2 separate regions of the Homo sapiens genome follow, and region 2 is linked to region 1. Evidence: promoter capture Hi-C in human tissues and cell types (Jung and others, 2019). All regions are on one chromosome and are shown on one strand. Each heading gives the region's core, a stretch centred on a gene start or on the middle of the fragment in contact. The rest is flanking DNA. Distances are from core to core; before and after follow the strand shown.

The links. Contacts are between HindIII fragments. The study calls those that stand out against the background at their distance.
Region 2: a contact is called between a fragment that was not itself captured here and the fragment with the promoter of RAD23A in region 1, in 1 of the 25 tissues and cell types used here (dorsolateral prefrontal cortex).

What each region holds. Positions count from the first base shown.
Region 1 is chr19:12,942,447-12,948,452 of GRCh38, forward strand. It overlaps RAD23A (RAD23 nucleotide excision repair protein A), which reads left to right and starts at 3,416. Exons shown (of 9, transcript NM_005053.4): 1 at 3,416-3,574; 2 at 5,402-5,563; 3 at 5,731-5,912. The coding sequence starts at 3,503. It overlaps CALR (calreticulin), which reads left to right. Exons shown (of 9, transcript NM_004343.4): 8 at 1,091-1,183; 9 at 1,267-2,043. The coding sequence ends at 1,467. RefSeq lists enhancers at 3,194-3,886, 3,298-3,517, 4,833-6,006 and silencers at 3,578-3,657, 3,668-3,857, 3,878-3,937, 3,909-4,203. The HindIII fragment of the contact is 31,996 bases long and covers 1-6,006 here.
Region 2 is chr19:12,682,922-12,688,927 of GRCh38, forward strand. It overlaps GNG14 (G protein subunit gamma 14), which reads left to right and starts at 5,077. Exons shown (of 1, transcript NM_001316692.2): 1 at 5,077-5,501. The coding sequence starts at 5,128. The coding sequence ends at 5,451. It overlaps FBXW9 (F-box and WD repeat domain containing 9), which reads right to left. Exons shown (of 10, transcript NM_032301.3): 10 at 5,995-6,006. RefSeq lists an enhancer at 180-702. The HindIII fragment of the contact is 4,816 bases long and covers 770-5,585 here.

The sequences.
Region 1 (6,006 bases), core at 2,166-4,665:
GTAGGTACCTGAAAAATACCTGAATAAGAGAGTGAGAAACAAGAAACAGGTGCAGAGAACTGAAGTCAGTGGCCCAAGGTCATGGGGGTAGGAAACCACAAAGCTGGGGTTTGAACCTGGGCAGTACAGCACCTGAGTCTCTCCATCTTTTTTTTTTTTTTTTTTTAAGACAGAGTCTTGCTCTGTCACCCAGGTTGGAGTGCAGTGGCTTGATCTCGGCTCACTGCAGCCTCTGCCTTCCAGGTTCAAGTGATTCTCATGCCTCATCCTCTCGAGCAGCTGGAATTACAGGCATGCGCCACGACGCTGGGCTTTTTTTTTTTTGAGATGGAATTTCACTCTTGTTGCCCAGGCTGGAGTGCAATGATGCAATCTCGGCGGCTCACCACAACCTCTGCATCCCAGATTCAAGCGATTCTCCTGCCTCGGCCTCCTGAGTAGCTGGGATTACAGGGATGCGCCATCACAGACCCCGGGCTAATTTTTTTTAGTAGAGACAGAGTTTCACTATGTTGCCCAGGTTGGTCTCGAACTCCTGGCCTCAAGTGATCCGTTCGCCATGACCTCCCAAAGTGCTGGGATTACAGGCATGAGCCCGTCCCGTCCCTGGCTGTCTCTCCATCTTTCCATCTTTTTTTTTTTTTTTTTTTTTTTTGGAGATGGAGTCTCACTCTGTCACCCAGGCTGGAGTGCAGTGGCACGATCTTGGCTCACTGCAAGCTCCGCCTCCTGGGTTCACATCATTCTCCTGTCTCAGCCTCCCAAATAGCTGGGACTACAGGCACTTGCCACCACGCCTGGCTGATTTTTTGTATTTTTAGTAGAGACGGGGTTTCACCGTGTTAGCCAGGGTGGTCTCGATCTCCTGACCTCGTGATCCGCCCACCTTGGCCTCTGGGCGAGGATTACAGGCGTGATCCACCTCACCTGGCCTCTCCATCTTTTTAACTGCAGTGTCAGCGGTGTTCCTTGTCTTCTCTGCAGATGCAGGCAGCAGAATATAGTGGTTATAGGAACACAGGTGGAAACCCTGTCCAAAGCAAGGGCTATCGGGTATCACCTCTGACCATCCTTCCCATTCATCCTCCAGGTCAAGTCTGGCACCATCTTTGACAACTTCCTCATCACCAACGATGAGGCATACGCTGAGGAGTTTGGCAACGAGACGTGGGGCGTAACAAAGGTGAGGCCTGGTCCTGGTCCTGATGTCGGGGGCGGGCAGGGCTGGCAGGGGGCAAGGCCCTGAGGTGTGTGCTCTGCCTGCAGGCAGCAGAGAAACAAATGAAGGACAAACAGGACGAGGAGCAGAGGCTTAAGGAGGAGGAAGAAGACAAGAAACGCAAAGAGGAGGAGGAGGCAGAGGACAAGGAGGATGATGAGGACAAAGATGAGGATGAGGAGGATGAGGAGGACAAGGAGGAAGATGAGGAGGAAGATGTCCCCGGCCAGGCCAAGGACGAGCTGTAGAGAGGCCTGCCTCCAGGGCTGGACTGAGGCCTGAGCGCTCCTGCCGCAGAGCTGGCCGCGCCAAATAATGTCTCTGTGAGACTCGAGAACTTTCATTTTTTTCCAGGCTGGTTCGGATTTGGGGTGGATTTTGGTTTTGTTCCCCTCCTCCACTCTCCCCCACCCCCTCCCCGCCCTTTTTTTTTTTTTTTTTTAAACTGGTATTTTATCTTTGATTCTCCTTCAGCCCTCACCCCTGGTTCTCATCTTTCTTGATCAACATCTTTTCTTGCCTCTGTCCCCTTCTCTCATCTCTTAGCTCCCCTCCAACCTGGGGGGCAGTGGTGTGGAGAAGCCACAGGCCTGAGATTTCATCTGCTCTCCTTCCTGGAGCCCAGAGGAGGGCAGCAGAAGGGGGTGGTGTCTCCAACCCCCCAGCACTGAGGAAGAACGGGGCTCTTCTCATTTCACCCCTCCCTTTCTCCCCTGCCCCCAGGACTGGGCCACTTCTGGGTGGGGCAGTGGGTCCCAGATTGGCTCACACTGAGAATGTAAGAACTACAAACAAAATTTCTATTAAATTAAATTTTGTGTCTCCCTCCTGTGTCTCCTTCTGGGGAAAGACAGACTTAAGGAAACCCAGCAGTGGTCTTTTTGGGGGGGGGGGGGGTTTCCAGTATATCTCCTTTTTCAGCTATTGCTAGAGAGGTTGCTGAGTGTTCCACAAGATTCCAGGGACCCTTATTTACCCCATAACCCTCAAAACCAACGGGGGAATGGCTGTTGCTGCTGTAAATACTCCACATACTAACTTACTGAATCCTTGAACCTAACTGGTAAGTTTTGGTTCTGCTTATTTATTTATTTTTAAGATAGACTCTCGCTCTGTTGTCCAGGCTGGCGTACAGTGGCTCAATCTGGTTCACCCTGCCCCTTAAACTGGCCTTTTTCATGCTTCTATTCCTTTGGGGTCCTGTGGCTCAGCCCAACCCCTCTGGGATGCCTCCAGGACTGGTAGATCCAAGGGAGAATTCTGTATTTAATGTAGTGAGGCTTTGAAAGTTAACATCTTTAAATACTTCTGGGGTCAGATTAGGTATAGTACAACAAAGTACTCCTGCCCGGAGACCCAAGAATGAAAATTGTAGGTTCATTCCAAAACTCCAGATCCCTAAAGAATGAATGAGGCTACAAAATGGCACCTTGCCCCCGCTTCCAACTTAAGGTTTTTTTTCTGTGCTTGGTGGCCTTTCAGGTATTTCTAGTTTTGAGTAACTTTCACTTTGACTGCTCTACAAGGGTTCCTGCCAGGATACCCAGACCAGAATAAAACTCATTTGGGGGCCGGGTACGGTGGTTCACGCCTGTAATCCCAGCACTTTGGGAGGCCGAGGCGGGTGGATCACCTGAGGTCAGGAGTTTTGAGACCAGCCTGGCCAACACGGTGAAACCCAATACAAAAAATTATCCGGGCGTGGTGGGGGGTGCCTGTAATCCCAGTTACTCGGGAGGCTGAGGCAGGAGAATTGCATGAACCCGGAAGGCGGAAGCTGCAGTGAGCCGAGATCGCGCCACTGCACTCCAGCCTGGGTGACAGAGACTGTTTGAAAGAAAAAATTCTCATTTGGAAGAGGCAAAATGAGGTTTTTACAGAAGAAATACAAATGTCTGTAACCAGTACAGGTACATAAAAACTTTGTTAAAAATTCATTTGAGCGTGAGAGTGGGGACACCAGAGTCACTTTGCAGCCCCGTGACGTCACCGATAACGGGCATGGCGTCACTCAGGAGACCACGTGTGCGGGCCGAGCAAGAAGCCCCGCCCACAGCGCGGAGTTTAGTCTGCGCGTGCCTCGCTCGAGAACGCGCTCGTGCGCATGCCCACAAAGGCCAAGGAGGGAGTGCGCAGGTCACGTGCGCCGGTGGTCAGCGCGCGCATTGCCTGCCCCGGAAGTGGTCGGCGCGCGGCGCGGCGCGCCTGGGCGCTAAGATGGCGGCGGCGTGAGTTGCATGTTGTGTGAGGATCCCGGGGCCGCCGCGTCGCTCGGGCCCCGCCATGGCCGTCACCATCACGCTCAAAACGCTGCAGCAGCAGACCTTCAAGATCCGCATGGAGCCTGACGAGACGGTGCGGGCCGGGCCGGAGCCCGGGGGCGGGAGCGACGGGTTTCGGGGGTGGGGTGGGGGCGGGGAGGCTAGAATCCCAACGGGAGGGGCAGGGAGGACGGCGCGGGTCGGCCCTGCCCAGACCCCCGACCTGCCCGACTTTCCTGGACCCCCCGATGGTCTTTGGCCCAGCCCCCAGCCGATCGGGCGGCGCTCCTGCGCCGGTCTCCGGGCGAGGCCCCACCCCCGGGGCGCTGGCCAGGCCCCGGCTCCAATGTCAGCGCTCTCGCGGGGCGCGGGAGTCACAAGCTCGGATTCCTGGGCAGGCCAAGCTCTCCAAGACTGGGCTCCACGTTCCCAGCTTTGCAGGCGTCTCCTTGGGACACTGGTGGTCGAATCTAGGAGTAATGACCAGGAGATACTGAGTAGTGACGACAACAACGATGTTAATGATAATAAACGGGTCTCAGTCTTTATAATTTTGGTGGTCCGTGTTTGTTGGCCGTTTACTTTTTATCAGTCACCGAGTGTTGTAGTGTTGTTTTACCGCTCTGCAAAACGGGCTTGTCATTGGGGACCTCTGATCATTTTACAGATGTGGAAACCTAGGGATTGAGGAACTTTGCCACAGTCACACACAAGTAATGGCAGAGCTGGGATTCAAATTCGGTTCTGCCTCGTGTGAGCGTCCACGATATAAATATTATGCTGCCTTTTTAGTCAAAAGTAGAATTAGGACCTAATTCAAACATACTGAATGTCTATTGGGTACTTGGCGCTTTTTGCATAGTGAGGGAGACATTGAAGTCCACTTTTTGTAGAAAAGGAAACACACATTTTTTGATCCGCTCAAGTGTTTGGCTTTGGGCAAGTTAACCTGCCTACCTGTCTGTGCCTCCGTTTTCTCAAATATCAAATGAACCGGTCGCCTGCTGGCTTCCGCCTGTAATCCCAGCACTTAGGGAGGCAGAGGGAAGAGGAGCCCTTGAGCCTAGGAATTCGAGATCATCCTGGCAACACAGTGAGACCCCGTTCTCTACAAAAAAAAGAAACAAAAATCAATAAATAAAATGAGACCAATTAAACGTATTTCATAGGAAACTTAAAAGGTATGACACATATACATTTACAGTAGCACTATTGGCCAGGCACGGTGGCTCATGCCTCTAATCCTGATGATTTGGGAGGCAGAGGCAGGAGGATTGCTTGAGGCCAGGAGTTTGAGACCAGCCAGTCTAACATAGGGAGACTCTTATCTACAAAAAAAAATTATTTTTAATTAGTCTGGAGTGGTGGTGTGTACCTTTAGTCCTAGCTACTCCCAAGGCTGGACAAGAGTACCAGTTGAGCCCAGGAGTTTGAGGCTGCAGTCAGCGATGATCGTGCCACATCAATCCAGCATGGGCGGCAGCGAGATCCTGCCTCTTAAAATTAAAAAATATCACTATTAACTATTAGTCACTTATTGTCCAAGGTAGAGTGTAGAGTGGGGGACTGTCCCCTTTATTCTGTTAATTATACTTTATACTACCCGAAATTACATTTTCTTCACATTAGTGTTCTCTCATTGAGAGCAGGGACTTACTTGTGTTGAGTTTGTTCTGTGCTGTGGCCTCTGTGTCTAAAACAGCACCTGGCACATAATGGGTGTTTAGTATAAGTAAATACTGTGTTGAATGGCATGATGATTGAATGAATTCAAATCTAGCATGCTTTAGATGCTGAGAAAGCTTAAAAAACCCAGCGTGCTTGCCTTTCTGCCATCAGGGCTGGCAGTTTCTCTGTCCTAAACTAGAAGGGAAAAGAGAATCTTGGGGTCTCCAGTGACTGTCTGTACCACTCCCTCTAGGTGAAGGTGCTAAAGGAGAAGATAGAAGCTGAGAAGGGTCGTGATGCCTTCCCCGTGGCTGGACAGAAACTCATCTATGCCGGCAAGATCTTGAGTGACGATGTCCCTATCAGGGACTATCGCATCGATGAGAAGAACTTTGTGGTCGTCATGGTGACCAAGGTGGGTGACGTGTGCTGGCTGGGAGGGTGGGTGGACGAGCTGGGGAGCTGGCAAAGAGCCTGTGTGCCCAGGAGAGATTAGCTGTGAACAGGGCGGGGCCACAGCGGAGCGGGTTGTTGGGTCTGATAGGGTTGCTGATGCCAGCTCCCTTTTTCTTGCTGTTGCAGACCAAAGCCGGCCAGGGTACCTCAGCACCCCCAGAGGCCTCACCCACAGCTGCCCCAGAGTCCTCTACATCCTTCCCGCCTGCCCCCACCTCAGGCATGTCCCATCCCCCACCTGCCGCCAGAGAGGACAAGAGCCCATCAGAGGAATCCGCCCCCACGACGTCCCCAGAGTCTGTGTCAGGGTAAGGCGGGGGCAGCAGTCCCAGCTTGGGCCCTGTCCTCCTAGCACATTCCAGCGTCCACATAAGTGGTCCCACACACCTGGAGGGAGGGCAA
Region 2 (6,006 bases), core at 1,928-4,427, 260 kb before region 1:
CCTCAGGTGACCGCCCGCCTGGGCTTTCCAAAGTGCTGAGATTACAGGTGTGAGCCACCGTCCCCAGCCAAAATTCCTATTTTAATGCCACCTGCTGGAGACCCACTGCTTGGCCCGGCACTCGCCCATTCGTTTCTGTTCTGTCCCCTCGGGAGGGGAGGATGGTTTTGTTGTTGTTGTTGCTGTTTTGTTTGTTTGTTTGTTTGAGCTAGAGTCTTGCGCTGTCTCCCAGGCTGGAGTGCAGTGGCACGATCTCGGCTCACTGCAACCTCCGCCTCCCAGGTTCACGCCATTCTTCTGCCTCAGCCTCCCCAGTAACTGGGACTACAGGCGCCGGCCACCACGCCCGGCTAATATTTTGTATTTTTAGTAGAGACGGGGTTTCACCGTGTTAGCCAGGGTAGTCTCGATCTCCTGACCTCGTGATCCGCCCGCCTCAGCCTCCCAAAGTGCTGGGATTACAGGCATGAGCCACCGCGCCTGGCCTGCTGCTATTTTTTGATAGGGTCTCACTCTGTCGCCAGGCTGGAGTGCTGTGACGCGATCTCGGCCCACTGCAACCTCTGACTCCCGGACTCAGGTCATCCTCCCACCCCAGCATTCCGACTAGTGTGCACCATCGTGCCCAGCTAATTTTTTTATGAGGGTCACTTTTTTTTTTTTTTTTTTTTTTGAGACAGAGTCTCGCTCTGTCGCCCAGGCTGGAGTGCAGTGGCGCAATCTCGGCTCACTGCAAGCTCTGCCTCCCAGGTTCATGCCATTCTCCTGCCTCAGCCTCCCGAGTAACTGGGACTACAGGTGCCCGCCACCACACCCGGCTAATTTTTTCTGTTTTTAGTAGAGATGGGGTTTCACCGTGTTAGCCAGGATGGTCTCGATCTCCTGAACTCGTGACCCGCCCGCCTTGGCCTCCCAAAGTGCCAGGATTACAGGCGTGAGCCACTGCGCCCGGCCGAGGGTCACTTCTTAAGCGTCACCCATGGACAAGATTTCGGTCACCAGGCAGAGTTAGACACAGTTTCATCCTTCCTCAGCCACTTTTGTCTAATGGGATAGTGAGCCCGGTTCGTGCCCTCACAAGTCTCCAAAGCCTTCACATGCTGCATAACGCTCTGTTCTTCCTTCCCTTATAGCTGCAGCTGTCACCTCCACCTCCTCTGGGAAGCCTTCCCTGAACTCCCACTGGGTCAGTGGCCTCTTCTGGGACCCAGGGCTGACGTCTCTTTCCCTCCTGCAAGAATGTGAGACCCTGGGTGTCATCTGTATCTCAAACACACCCTCCTAACAGTGCATACGGCCAACAGGATTATTCACTCACTCTACAATTCATGTAGTCTATTCTCTATGGTGGGCTCCGTGCTAGGCACTAAGGATTTAGTGGTGAACAAGACCAAGATGTGGACCCTGCCCTACTGGAGCCCACAATCTGATTGGGAAGATAGAAAGTTAACAATAGTGGTGAGTGCTATCAGGCCTTTTTTGTTTTTTGTTTTTTTTGGAGACAGAGTTTCGCTCTTGTTGCCCAGGCTGGAGTGCAATGGCGCGATCTCCACTCATCGCAACCTCTGCCTCCCAGTTTCAAGCAATTCTCCTGCCTCAGCCTCCCGAGTAGCTGGGATTACAGGCATGAGCCATCACGCCCGGCTAATTCTTGTATTTTTAGTAGAGATGGGGTTTCACTATGTTGGTCAGGCTAGTCTCGAACTCCTGACCTCAGGTGATCTGCCTGCCTCGGCCTCCCAAAGTGCTGGGATTACAGGTGTGAGCCACCGCGCCCAGCGCAATCAGGATTTAAACAGGATAATTTGAGTCTTTAGGTGGAGGAGTTCGGGATTTTAGTTGGAGGGATGGGTGAAGGACGCCAAGGAGGTGAGATTTGAGCCAAAGCCAGAAGGCTGAGAAAATCCCCGTATGTGAAGATGCAGAGAGGCCATTTCCTGCACATGGGAAGACAGAACAGCAAAAGCCGTGAGGCTGGAATGAGCCTACCTTGTTGGAGGAGACAGACATCCTCCTTGACATCCTCGCTTGGACCTCAAAGTTGCCCCCTCAGCTCCCTCTCCACCTATCCCTGATCTTTCTGCATCTCAGCAAACGGCCCCACCCTCCACTCATCCACTAGACTGAAAAATAGGGATTGGGGCTGGGCGCGGTGGCTCACACCTGTAATCCCAGCACTTTGGGATGCCAAGGAGGGCAGATCACCTGAGGTTAGGAGTTAGAGACCAGCCTGGACAACATGGCGAAACCCCGTCTCTACTAAAAAATACAAAAATTAGCCGGGTGTGGTGGCGCACACCCATAATCCCAGCTACTCAGGAGGCTGAGGCAGGAGAATCACTTGAACCCGGGAGGTGGAGGTTGCAGTGAGCTGAGATGGTGCCACTGCACTCCAGCCTGGGCAACAGAGCGAAACTCCGTCTCAAAAATAGATAAATAAAAATTAAAAATGAGGAGCGCAGCTTGCTGTCTCCCCTTTTCTCACACCCCACATCCATCCTTCTCAGCATGTCTGCCAACCTCTACCTATAAAGTAGGTCCGAAATCCAGGTGTTTTCTTTATCCCCATAGCCTGCAAGCTGGCTTTGGTATCCTCCAACCCATCTCCCACCTAACAGCTAAAATCAGAGAGCTTTTTTTTTTTTTTTTTTTTTTTTGAGACGGAGTCTTGCTCTGTCGCCCAGGCTGGAGTGTAGTGGTGTGATTTCGGCTCACTACAAGCTCCACCTCCCGGGTTCACGCCAGTCTCCTGCCTCAGCCTCCCAAGTAGCTGGGACTACAGGCGCCCGCCACACGCCCAGCTAATTTTTTGTATTTTTAGTAGAGACGGGGTTTCACCATGTTAGCCAGGATGGTCTTGATCTCCTGACCTCGTGATCCGCCCACCTCAGCCTCCCAAAGTGCTGGGATTACAGGCATGAGCCACCGTGCCCAGCCGCTGAGCTTTTTTTTTTGATGCAGGGTCTCACTCTGTCACCAGGGCTGGAGTGCAGTGGGACAATCACACCTCACTGCAGCTTCGACCTCCTGGCCTCAAGTGATCCTCCCACTTCAGCCTCCCCAGTAGCTGGGACTACAGGTGCATGCCACAGCTCTTTAACCATAAATCAAACATGTCACTGTTAAAACCTCCTAATGGTAGCTTCCCCCTGGGAGTAAAATCCAAGCTTTTCACAGTGGCCTTAAAGGGCACCTCTCAACCTCCCTGCTGCCATCTCCCACCATGCTGGCCCTCCCTCCCTCTCTCCTCTCCAGCTACACAGACCTCTTTGCTATTCCTGGAACCCACCAAGCTCTTTTTTGTCCAAGGAGTCAGGTACTTGCCGCTCCTTCTGCCTAGAACACCCCATTTCTCAGTTCCTTCTCCTCCTTTGGGCCTAAGTTCAAATGTCACCTCCTCTGAGAGGCCTGCCCTGACCACTCCTCTCCCCTTTACTTTGATTTTATTCTTCTTTCATATGCCCTTTCACATGTATACTCTTTCACTGAGTACATTTTCTGTTGTCCATCCCTGCCTAACTAGAAAGGCAGCTCCATGAGGGCAAGGTTTTGTCTTGTTTCATTGCTAATTTGGGTTTTTGCACAGTGCTGGGCACATATTAGAATCTCGGGGCAGGGCTCAGTGGCTTATGCCTATAATTCCTTTGGAAGGCCAAGGCAAGAGGATCGTTTGAGGCCAGGAGTTCAAGACCAGCCTGGGCAACATAGTAAGAACCATCTCTACAAAAAGTTAAAAACATAAATTAGCAGGGCACGGTGGCTCACGCCTATAATTCTAGCTAATCAGGAGGCTGAGTTGAGAGGATCACTTGAGCCCAGGAGTTTGAAGTTACAGTGAGCTATGATTGTACCACTGCACTCCAGCCTGGACGACAGAGCGAGAACCTGGGCTTAAAAAAAGAAAAGAAGGCCAGGCACGATGGCTCACACCTGTAATCCCAGCACTTTGGGAGGCCGAAGCAGGTGGATCACTTGAGGTCAGGAGTTCGAGACCAGCCTGGCCAACATGGTGAAACCCCTTCTCTACTAAAAATACAAAAATTAGCCAGGTGTGGCCGGGCGCAGTGGCTCATGCCTGTAATCCCAGCACTTTGGGAGGCTGAGGCAAGTGGATCACCTGAGATCAGGAGTTCAAGACCAGCCTGACCAACATGGTGAAACCTCATCTCTACTAAAAATACAAAAAATTAGCCGAGCATGGTGGCACATGCCTGTAATCCCAGCTACTCGAGAGGCTGAGGCAGAAGAATCGCTTGAACCCAGAAGGCGGAGGTTGCAGTGAGCCGAAATCACGCTATTGCACTCTAGCCTGGGCAACAAGAGCGAAATACCATCTCAAAAAAAAAAAAAAAAAAAAAATTAGCCGGGTGTGGTAGCATACGCCTGTAATCCCAGCTACTCAGGAGGCTGAGGCAGGAGAATCACTTGAGCCCGGGAGGTGGAGGTTGAAAGTGAGCTGAGATCGCACCACTGCACTCCAACATGGGTGATAGAGCAAGACTCTCTCTCAAAAAAAAAAAAAAAAAAAAAAAAAAGAACGAAGGCATTGGAGATTTGAGCCTGAGCAGTGGCGACAACAGGAGGAGAGGCAAGGCTGCATGTTGGAGATGGCAGAGGCTGACAAAGCAGATGTGTTGGGAACAGTTAGCAGGAGATCCAGCAGGCCAGGGGGAGGCCAGGGCCTCCTCACTCCCCCAGCCAAGGCACCTAGCCCACAGGGACCCAGGTGACACATGACACCAGAGGAGCCACAGGGCCTCCTGGGGCAGGGACCCCCTCAGCCGAGGCAGCAGCTGCTGCTGCAGCTGGTGACATTTCACTCCATGAGAGCCCTGGCTTCAAAGTCTTTGCAGGGGTAGCCGAGGGAGAAAAGGGGGTTGAAGAGGACAGGCTGGGTTGGGGAGGGAGCCACAGCAGGGTGGCCACCAGAGGACCAGGCAGCCAGAGGTGACTTGGGCCGGAGCCCTTAGCCGAGGTGTGTGGGCCTGATGGGTCCAGGAGCAGCCACCCTCATCCTGCAGCCCCCAAGGAACATAGAAGGAGGTGTGGGAACCCTCGGGCAGCCCTAGGCTCCCCCTAGGGGACTGAGGTTGGGCCTGCTGCCCACGGCCTGCCCACTTTACCCAGATGTCCAGCAAGGTGGCCATCAACAGTGACATTGGGCAGGCCCTCTGGGCAGTGGAGCAGCTCCAGATGGAGGCAGGCATCGACCAAGTGAAGGTGAGGGTCGGGGCCAGTGCAGGAGGCGGGAAGAGGTGGGAACACATGGGCCAGGGGACAGGTGCATGCCTGGGTCTGGTCTGGCTGAACCAGTTGGTCTGCAGGTGTCCAAAGATGGCCGCCGATCTGCTGAAGTTCTGCACGGAGCAGGCCAAGAATGACCCCTTCCTTGTGGGCATCCCGGCCGCCACCAACTCCTTCAAGGAGAAGAAGCCCTATGCCATCCTATGAACCCAGGGCAATGCCACCCTGTGGCCTGGGCAAACCAGGGGGCCTCAATAAACATGAAGTGAATACTTCTCAGGGCATGGCTGAGCTGGGCTGAGATGGGAGACCAGAGGGACTTTGGGCTTGCAGGGGCCAGGTGCGTACCTGGCCCAGCCTCCCTCCCTGCCTGCCCCCGGGGTCACAGCCACAGCAGCACACACACACCCTGGAGCCCCAGACGGAGAGCACGCCATCCCTCTTGCCCTCGCCAGCACCCATGGGATAGCCTGAGCAGGTACCCTTTCCCACCGTGCAGACAAATGGCCAGGATTTGAGTCATAATCTATACACCACACGCGTCACACATCACACACACACGTGACATCATAGACACAGATGCCCACGATCCTCAGGACTCTCCCTCTTCAAATGCACAGCAACAGCTGACATGCACCCCCAGCCCAGACTTGCTATCTCTCCCAGTCACTCCCATGCAGGCCCGCAGCCCCACAGCCCCAAGCAGGCACAGGCAGAACCCCAGCAGGCAAACCACACTCACACTCCAGGCCCAAGCACCAA